2 separate regions of the Homo sapiens genome follow, and region 2 is linked to region 1. The links are contacts of gene promoters, found by promoter capture Hi-C in human tissues and cell types (Jung and others, 2019). All regions are on one chromosome and are shown on one strand. Each heading gives the region's core, a stretch centred on a gene start or on the middle of the fragment in contact. The rest is flanking DNA. Distances are from core to core; before and after follow the strand shown.

What was found. Contacts are between HindIII fragments. The study calls those that stand out against the background at their distance.
Region 2: a contact is called between a fragment that was not itself captured here and the fragment with the promoter of EEF1G in region 1, in 3 of the 25 tissues and cell types used here (bladder, liver and neural progenitor cells).

The regions. Positions count from the first base shown.
Region 1 is chr11:62,572,099-62,576,330 of GRCh38, reverse strand. It overlaps EEF1G (eukaryotic translation elongation factor 1 gamma), which reads left to right and starts at 2,440. Exons shown (of 10, transcript NM_001404.5): 1 at 2,440-2,500; 2 at 3,589-3,747. The coding sequence starts at 2,489. TUT1 (terminal uridylyl transferase 1, U6 snRNA-specific) reads left to right here. Exons shown (of 9, transcript NM_022830.3): 9 at 87-1,279. The coding sequence ends at 1,237. RefSeq lists enhancers at 393-1,354, 1,512-1,571, 1,355-2,316, 2,272-2,471. The HindIII fragment of the contact is 13,406 bases long and covers 1-4,232 here.
Region 2 is chr11:62,499,904-62,504,135 of GRCh38, reverse strand. It overlaps a transcript of AHNAK not described here. Among named protein-coding and RNA genes, the nearest start is that of AHNAK, 45 kb to the left of the region's middle. The HindIII fragment of the contact is 6,767 bases long and covers 1-4,232 here.

The DNA.
Region 1 (4,232 bases), core at 1,191-3,690:
TGCTAAGGAAATGGCTCTGGTGCAGGACCTGTATCAGTTCTGGCCTCTAAGTGACCCCCCTTTCCCCACTCTTCCTCCTCCTCCAGGTTCCCTGCTAGCCCAGTTCTTCTCCTGTGTATCTTGTTGGGATCTTCGTGGCTCCCTGCTGTCCCTGCGGGAGGGTCAGGCACTGCCTGTGGCAGGGGGCCTGCCTTCTAATCTCTGGGAGGGTCTGCGCCTTGGCCCCCTGAATCTCCAGGACCCTTTTGACCTGAGTCACAATGTCGCAGCCAATGTGACCAGCCGGGTGGCTGGGCGCCTACAGAACTGCTGCCGAGCAGCAGCCAATTACTGCCGAAGCCTCCAGTACCAGCGCCGTTCCTCCCGGGGTCGGGACTGGGGGCTGCTCCCTCTTCTGCAGCCCAGCTCCCCCAGCTCCCTGCTCTCTGCTACGCCGATCCCTTTACCCCTTGCACCCTTCACCCAGCTCACTGCTGCCCTGGTGCAGGTATTCAGGGAAGCACTGGGGTGCCATATAGAACAGGCAACCAAGAGAACGCGGTCAGAAGGAGGTGGAACTGGGGAGTCCTCTCAGGGAGGGACAAGCAAAAGACTCAAAGTAGATGGACAGAAAAACTGCTGTGAGGAGGGGAAAGAGGAGCAGCAGGGATGTGCAGGGGACGGTGGGGAAGACAGGGTAGAAGAGATGGTTATAGAGGTTGGAGAGATGGTGCAGGACTGGGCCATGCAGAGCCCTGGGCAGCCAGGGGACCTGCCCCTGACCACTGGAAAGCATGGAGCCCCTGGAGAAGAGGGGCAGCCCAGCCACGCAGCCCTGGCAGAGCGGGGGCCCAAGGGACATGAGGCAGCCCAAGAATGGTCTCAGGGTGAGGCAGGGAAGGGGGCATCCCTGCCCTCCTCAGCGAGCTGGCGCTGTGCCTTGTGGCACCGAGTGTGGCAAGGGCGGCGGCGAGCCCGTAGACGCTTGCAGCAGCAAACCAAGGAGGGAGCTGGAGGTGGCGCTGGCACAAGAGCAGGGTGGCTGGCGACTGAGGCTCAGGTCACCCAGGAGCTGAAAGGACTGAGTGGTGGCGAAGAGAGGCCAGAAACTGAGCCCCTGCTGAGCTTTGTGGCGTCTGTCTCCCCGGCTGACCGAATGCTCACTGTGACCCCGCTCCAGGATCCCCAAGGCCTGTTCCCTGATCTCCATCATTTCTTACAGGTTTTCCTCCCTCAAGCAATTCGACATCTCAAGTGAAGACATGGCCCCTGAAGGGCAATAAAGCTGCTAGTTTATTAATACAGTCTCCCGTTTCCTTTCATTTCCATCTGGTCATAATCCCCCTTCCCCTCCCCCAGAACTTCCTGCAGCTGCTCCCGTCTGACCCCGAACATGGGTCTCTCCCTGTTGCTCTCCACCCCACCAGCTTCTCCTTCCTACAGTTCGCACAGCTCGAGGGGAGTGCGGGGGCAGCACCGCGCGTGGCACCTGGCACCCGCGCAGAGTTCCTGAATGGCAGAGCGGTGGGTGGCTCCAGCAGTACTGAGAAGAGCCAGGTTTGCCTCCACATTCTTCCTGTCGCCTCAGATTTATGCGCACAAGGACGGAGATTTGCGTTCAGCGTTCTTCATTCTCTCCTTTAAACGAGGAGAGTTCATCCCGTTCTTAAACTGGGTAAGAGATTTCAAACCTGAACATGGGTCAAAAGCCATGAACATCAGAAGCGACGATGTCAGGTCTTCCAGCGTCAGCCCCTCCAGGGGCCGAGTCCGGAGGAGGTGGGAGGGACAGGGCGCGTTCTCCCTCATGTCCCTGCCCTGCTTCGGGCCGGAGGGCCGGTGCCCTGCTCGCAGTAACAGCACCCTGGAGCTGTCAGGGGTTGGATGTGAGCAAACCTCACTTTGGCAGGCGGGTTCAGACCGGGGCCCCTGTTAGACGCTCATCCCTTTCTGGAGGAAAAGCAGAGCAGGAACTAAAGGGATTTAGCACACACACTGCCACCTCCGCGCAGCAGCTGTTCCTCGCTCCCATGAGTTTCATAGAATCATGTGAGGGGCTTGGCAAAATCTACCATCAAGTCACTTGTCCCTGGGAGGGCCAGAGAGGGACGCCCCCAGTAGCACTGGCCGCGCCGGGCCAACAACCGCGCCACGTAGCCAAGAACTCGCGGCTTTTCCAGCGGGTTCTCACAACTTCCCCGCCCTCCACGCTGTCTACCTCCACGTCTAGACTCCGATTGGCCCGCTGCACCTGGGGGGCGGGCCAGTCAAGAGCTCCAATGCGCAGGCCCGAGCTTTTTCCGCGCTGGCCAGCAGGCCCCACCCACCCAGTTCTTTTTCCAATTCAGCGCCACTGGATACCGAACTGTCGTACGTATGTCTTCTGTTTCGTCCTCGCTTTCCGGCTGCTGTTTCTCCACGGCTCTCCTCTTTCCCCCTCCCTTCTCTCCCGGGCGGCTTACTTTGCGGCAGCGCCGAGAACCCCACCCCCTTTCTTTGCGGAATCACCATGGCGGCTGGGGTAAGTTTGCTGGCTCTGGTGGTTCGGGTCATCCTATCCACCGCCATCCTTTGCCCGAGTGGGGCCAGTCGGCGCCAGAGGAGTTCTGAGGTTGAGTGGGGAACTGATTCGGGGGTCTACAGACTGTACTGCTGGAGAGTAGGGTTCCTAGGGCCTGGAGGGGAACTGAGGCTGGGGCTCTCGGAGGCCAGAGGTGGAAGGGTCTGGGGAAGAGGAGAAAAGAGATGCCGGGTCTGGGCCGTCCGAAGCCTGAGAAAGGGGTTCGGCTCTGTTGCCGCTTTGAGGCGTGGTATCTGGGCAGGTTGACGAACTTCTGTGTCCGTTTTGTGGAGTAACACAGGGGACAGGTTGAAGAGGAGGGTCTTTGTAGGCAGGTCCGGCTGGCACGGTTAAAGGTCGTCTCTCAGGGAGGTTTGGGAGCGAGAGGATTCTCCGGACAGTGAAGTCAGACCAATTGGACTCCGCTGGCCGGCATAATAGAGAAGCCCAACGCCGGGGAACTCGCTGCGGGACAGGACCGGAGGGATGATATTCGCGACACGGAAAGAAAGGCTTTTTGAGAGAGAGGAGTTGATTTAAGAAGACGGCATGCCATCCCCTATCTCTGGCTAGTCTGAGGGGAACTAGAAATCTCTCGATCGTCGTGCGTGCCTTAGAGACAGGACGATGCTTTTGAAGCGGTGAGCAGCTGAGCAGTAGAGTAGGCAGGCGCTCGGAACCATCAATGAATGAAGCGAGGGCTCCGGGAAGGGAGGAGAGTATGTTTGTAGGCAGATGGAGTCTGATGGAGCTAGAAGTTCTGGATTTCTTGGAGATAGATTTGAGAGGAAGAGAATACTTCCAGAGGTGTCCTTAGGGAAGGTCAAATCTGTCAACAAGCTTTATTTAGCAGTTGGTGTGTAGTTCTGTTCTTGGTATTTCGGAGGATTCTGATTACATATGACAAGTACTAAAGGACTTGGTTCACCAGAGGAAGTAAAAGGGTGAGTTGAATACATTGGGATTATTCAGGAAAGTCATCCTGGAGAGTGGCATTAAGGACTGGGACCCTTCTACTCATTAATTTTGTCCCTCTCTTTCTCCCATAGACCCTGTACACGTATCCTGAAAACTGGAGGGCCTTCAAGGCTCTCATCGCTGCTCAGTACAGCGGGGCTCAGGTCCGCGTGCTCTCCGCACCACCCCACTTCCATTTTGGCCAAACCAACCGCACCCCTGAATTTCTCCGCAAATTTCCTGCCGGCAAGGTGAGTTGGGAGATGGGGAGCATCCTTCGGTTCTGAGAAACCAAGGCCCTGCGATTCTGTCACTCTGGTGGTGGCCCCCATCTCTAAAAGGGAGCTTCCCATGTTGTTTTATTCAATTTCGGTGATTTTATTTTGAGATAAATACAGATTTACATGTAGTTGTGAAAAAAAATACAGAGCTATTCTGTGACTTTATAAAATTCACGAGTTTACTTTGTGGGAAAGAGAATGAGTTTTGACTAAGCATTTTCAGTGCAAATATATCAGATATCTGTTATGAGCAGAATTCTTACCCCAAGGGGTTTATAGAGATAGGTGAAGAAACATGCTAAGAATGGAGGAGATGAAGTGCTGTGTGGGTCTGGGTCACACACTAATACTTTAACTGATACAGACATTGATACAGGAGTTGCTTTTGGCCTTCTGCTTGTTTGATCCAGAGATTTCATACAAATATCCTGTAATATTCAAATCTATTGGGCTTC
Region 2 (4,232 bases), core at 1,037-3,536, 72 kb after region 1:
AGGTTGGAGTGCAGTGGTGTGATCTTGGCTCACTGCAACCTCCACCTCCTGAGTTCAAGCAATTCTCCTGCCTCAACCTCCCTAGTAGCTGGGATTACAGGTGCGCACCACCATGCCTGGCTAATTTTTGTATTTTTAGTAGAGATGGGGTTTCACCATGTTGGCCAGGCTGGTCTGGAACTCCTGACCTCAGGTGATCCACCCGCCTCGGCCTCCCAAAGTGCAGGCATTACAGGCATAAGCCACCACGCCCGGCCTGGAGGCAGGGACTTTAAAAGAAGTTATTTTTTAAACTGAGCTGCTGCCCTCTTATGAAGGAAAACCACTCCCTCTAAGTACTGATTTTGGTGACTGCTCTTAGTTTGAAGTAATTATTGTGTCTAAAAATGGAAAATCACATGTTACTGTTTATCAAAAGGAAATAAACACCTTGGATTAATCGGGTTCTTGCCACTGGATGGTGAGTCCAGACCTTGCCGGCAACCCAGGTAAAAAGGCCACTCTGCATGTTCTGCAAACACTCACTTTTTTTTTCTTTTTCTTTTTTTTTTTTGAGATGGAGTCTTGCTTTGTTGTCCAGGCTGGAGTGCAATGACACGGTCTTGGCTCACTGCAACCTCTGCCTCCTGGGTTCAGGTGATTCTCCTGCCTCAGCCTCTTGAATAGCTGAGATTACAGGCGCCCGCCACCATGCCCGGCTAATTTTTCTTTTAGTAGAGACAGGGTTTCACCATGTTGGCCAGGCTGGTCTCGAACTCCTTACCCAGGATCCCCCCGCCTTGGCCTCCCAAAGTGCTGGGATTACAGGCGTGAGCCACCGTGCCCAGCCCACTTTCGTTGTTTTACAGTTTCCGAAGGGGAAGTGGTCAGATCCTGTGTGTCCGCTGAGGCTTACTTGCCATGCCTGGTTATGTAATCGTGGACAACCTTTGATTGGGCTTTGCTGGTGGCAGAAATAAGGACAGGAAAAAACATGGGAGTCAGGGCGTGTCCCCCACTCACTCTACTCTGACATGGATTGGACTGTTGATTGTTTTGTATTTATGAGCATTTGCTGAACTCTCACGGAATATGGAGAATTAAAAGTTGGACAGAAATGCTTCAGTAAGCCAGCGTGAACTGTACATAGGTTCACACAGGGAAAAAAAGGTCTTGGAGGTGGCTCCGAACACTACATGTCTCAGCCTTTTCATACTCCAGCCAATGCCCAGGGAGCACTTGGTGGTCTCTGCTTTTGACTTAGCTACTGTCAGCCTCTGCAGTCTCAAGCCGGCCTCTGCAGCCACACTCAGCTCTTCCCAGTACTCTTTTAACATACTCTTCTCTTTCCAGCACCTGGCTTTCATGCAGGCTTTTCTTCCTCATCCTTTGGGTTTCAGCTCAGAGGTCATTTCCTCCTGGAAGCCTTCCTGGATACTCCCCATCTTCCCCAGCTATCTCACGCATTCATGTTGCTCTGTACTTTTTTGTTCTTAGCACTATTCATATTAAAATATTAGTGGCCAATGGCTTGTCTGTCTGCCTCTTGCTCCGGACTGTCAGCTCTGTGAGTGAGAAGTAGTATGCTTGTCCATCATTATGTCTCCAGCACACGGCCAGGCACATGGCACGTGGCAGAAACTTGATAAGCCATCTTATCACTAACCGATCACTTCATACACTTCCCCTCAGCGACTGGTGCTCCAATTTTCCTTCTGTCAATTACTGTTTAGTTTCTTGATCTCTCAGGTTTTAGCCTGTACTTAGGGTAAAAACAAACAAAAGTTAAAGAACAAAACAAAATAAACATTCTCTAATAAACGGTTGCTGAAGTTTTGCACTTTGGCTGCTTTCCTTGAGCTGCTGAGTGTGAATTCAGCTAAATTCTGTGCCCTGTTGGCTGGCAAACTTCTCAAATTGACACCATTCCAGCCCCCAGGACTGCCCTGCTGGGGTGGGAAAGGAGGCAGAGGAAAAGCTTGGAGACTCTGAAGTCGAGGACCTGAAGCCCAAGAAAGGTGGGGTGGCAAGAACGGCAAAAAGGGTGTTGCTTGGGGCAGGAAGTTGAGGAAGAGGGAGTGAAGGAGTGCTCGGGTGTGGAAGAGGAGAAGACACCCCAAATCTGCCCAGTTTGGTCCGAAATGGGTGGCTGGCATCTGAAACGTCTCTCACTGCTTAAGTCTAGGAAGTGTGGCTTTTGATTATTCTTTTGTTCTCCTTCCCTTCCTTCCTAGAGAATTTTTTGACCTGGAAAGCCTGGCTGGGATGTGGAGGGTTGTGTTTCCCACCTGCAGCAATGCGGGGCTGGCTTTGTCTTTGCAGCGAACTGCCCCATGCCCCCTGCCTGCCCCACCGCTCTCTTTGAGCCTGACAGACACAGCAACAGTGGCTCCGTGGCCAGCGTCCAGCGCTGCAGAATGAGACAAAGCCCTGTGTATTTGCTGGGCAGCACTTGGCTGTGATATATTGACATGTGAGCGCAGTAGAGTATTTGTGGCATCTGGAGAGCAAAGTGCTCACATCATGCTGGGGTTTGGCAAGTGCATTTATTTCTCTCAGGGTTTGACAAAGTTCTTTTATTTTATTTTTTTGAGATGGAGTTTTGCTTTGTCATCAGGCTGAAGTGCAGTGGCGCGATCTCGGCTCACTGCAACCTCCACCTCCCGGGTTCAAGCAATTCCCCTGCCTCAGCCTCCTGAGTAGCTGGGACTACAAGTATGCACTACCCTGCCTGGCTAATTTTTTGTATTTTAGTAGAGATGGAATTTCATCACGTTGGCCAGGATGGTCTCAATCTCCTGACCTCATGATCCACCCACTTTGGCCTCCCCAAGTGTTGGGATTACAGGCGTGAGCCACCGTGCCTGGCAGGCAAAGTTCTTCTAGAATGTAGAATTTGAGGCATTGAGACTGGAAATCCCTTTGAAAGGCAGGGATAAAATTGTTTTTTTTTTTTGGATGGGGTCTCACTCTGACCCCCAGGCTGGAAAGCAGTGGTGCCATCTGCCACTCCACCTTCTGGGCTCAAGAAATCCTCCCACCTCAACCTCCCAAGTGCCACCACGCCTGACTAATTTGTTTTGTGTTTTTGATTTTTTTTTGTAGAGATGGTGTTTCACTATGTTGCCCAGGCTGGTCTCGAACTCTTGGGTTCAAGCAATTCTCCCATCTCAGCCTCCCAAAGTGTTAGGATTACAGATGTGAGCCACTGTGCCTGGCCAGAATTGTATGTTTTAATGTGATACAGTATGTCTGAGCAATGTCCACATCCAGTTGTCAAGGGGGAAAAAACTTGATAGTGAGCATTCCCAGCTCAACGCTGCCTTGTTCAAAACTCAGCTGACATAGAGGCTTCTGCTGGTTCCCTGTCCACACAGAGTAAGCTCTTCCCAGCCAAAGGGGAGATGAAAGGATTATTTACTATGTAAAGTGGTGAGGCAGAAATCTCCCAGTTTGTTCACTTAGCTCAAAGTGGGAGAAAAAAAATGATGTTGAGGCGGTTCTATAGCTCGATTTCTGGTATGATCAACTGGGAGCAGCAATTTAAAACCCACTTGGATTTTTTAAGTCACTGGGGAGGTTCGGAGCCACATACCACGCCCTGTGTGTCATCATCGGGCTCTCTGAGGGACAGCACGTAGGTTTGGGAGGAACAGGTTCAAACCTGACTCTGATCGTTAACGAAGGTAGTGTTCTGTAGCACACATGACTCTCTGGGCCAATCAGATTACCCCAGCCTTCTAGCACCTGTGTGAACTGACATAGCTGGGAAGCTGGCTAGGCTGGGCTCAGGTGGGGCAGCCAGGTACCTTTATAGTATGATTTGAAGGCCTCAGGTGAGGCTGCCCTAGCCTGAAATATCTCCCCTACTGGCTTGTCAAGGATGTCTGAATTTCGCTACTATTGAGTCATTCCTTTGCGTTTACTACGGTCCTCGTTTTGTGAGTGCAGATTGATCTGGAATACAGGATCCTTAACCTTCCCATCTTAATTGCGTGGATACAACTAGACTATGTTTAATCTCTTGGGTAAGCCACAAACTAAGTTCCACTTTTTCATGCCAGGCCTGTCTTGAGGCATTTCACCTGCCCTCTTCTCTATTCTGTTCAGCTTAGACAAGAAGCAAGCTGGAGCCAGGTAGTCTGGTGTGGGGGACAGAGGAGCAGAGGACTGGAAAGTGAGGGCACCCAGGAGCAGCAGGCTCTCCTTCCTGGCTTCTGGCTTTCCAGCACAGAAAAGCTTGGCTGAGCCTT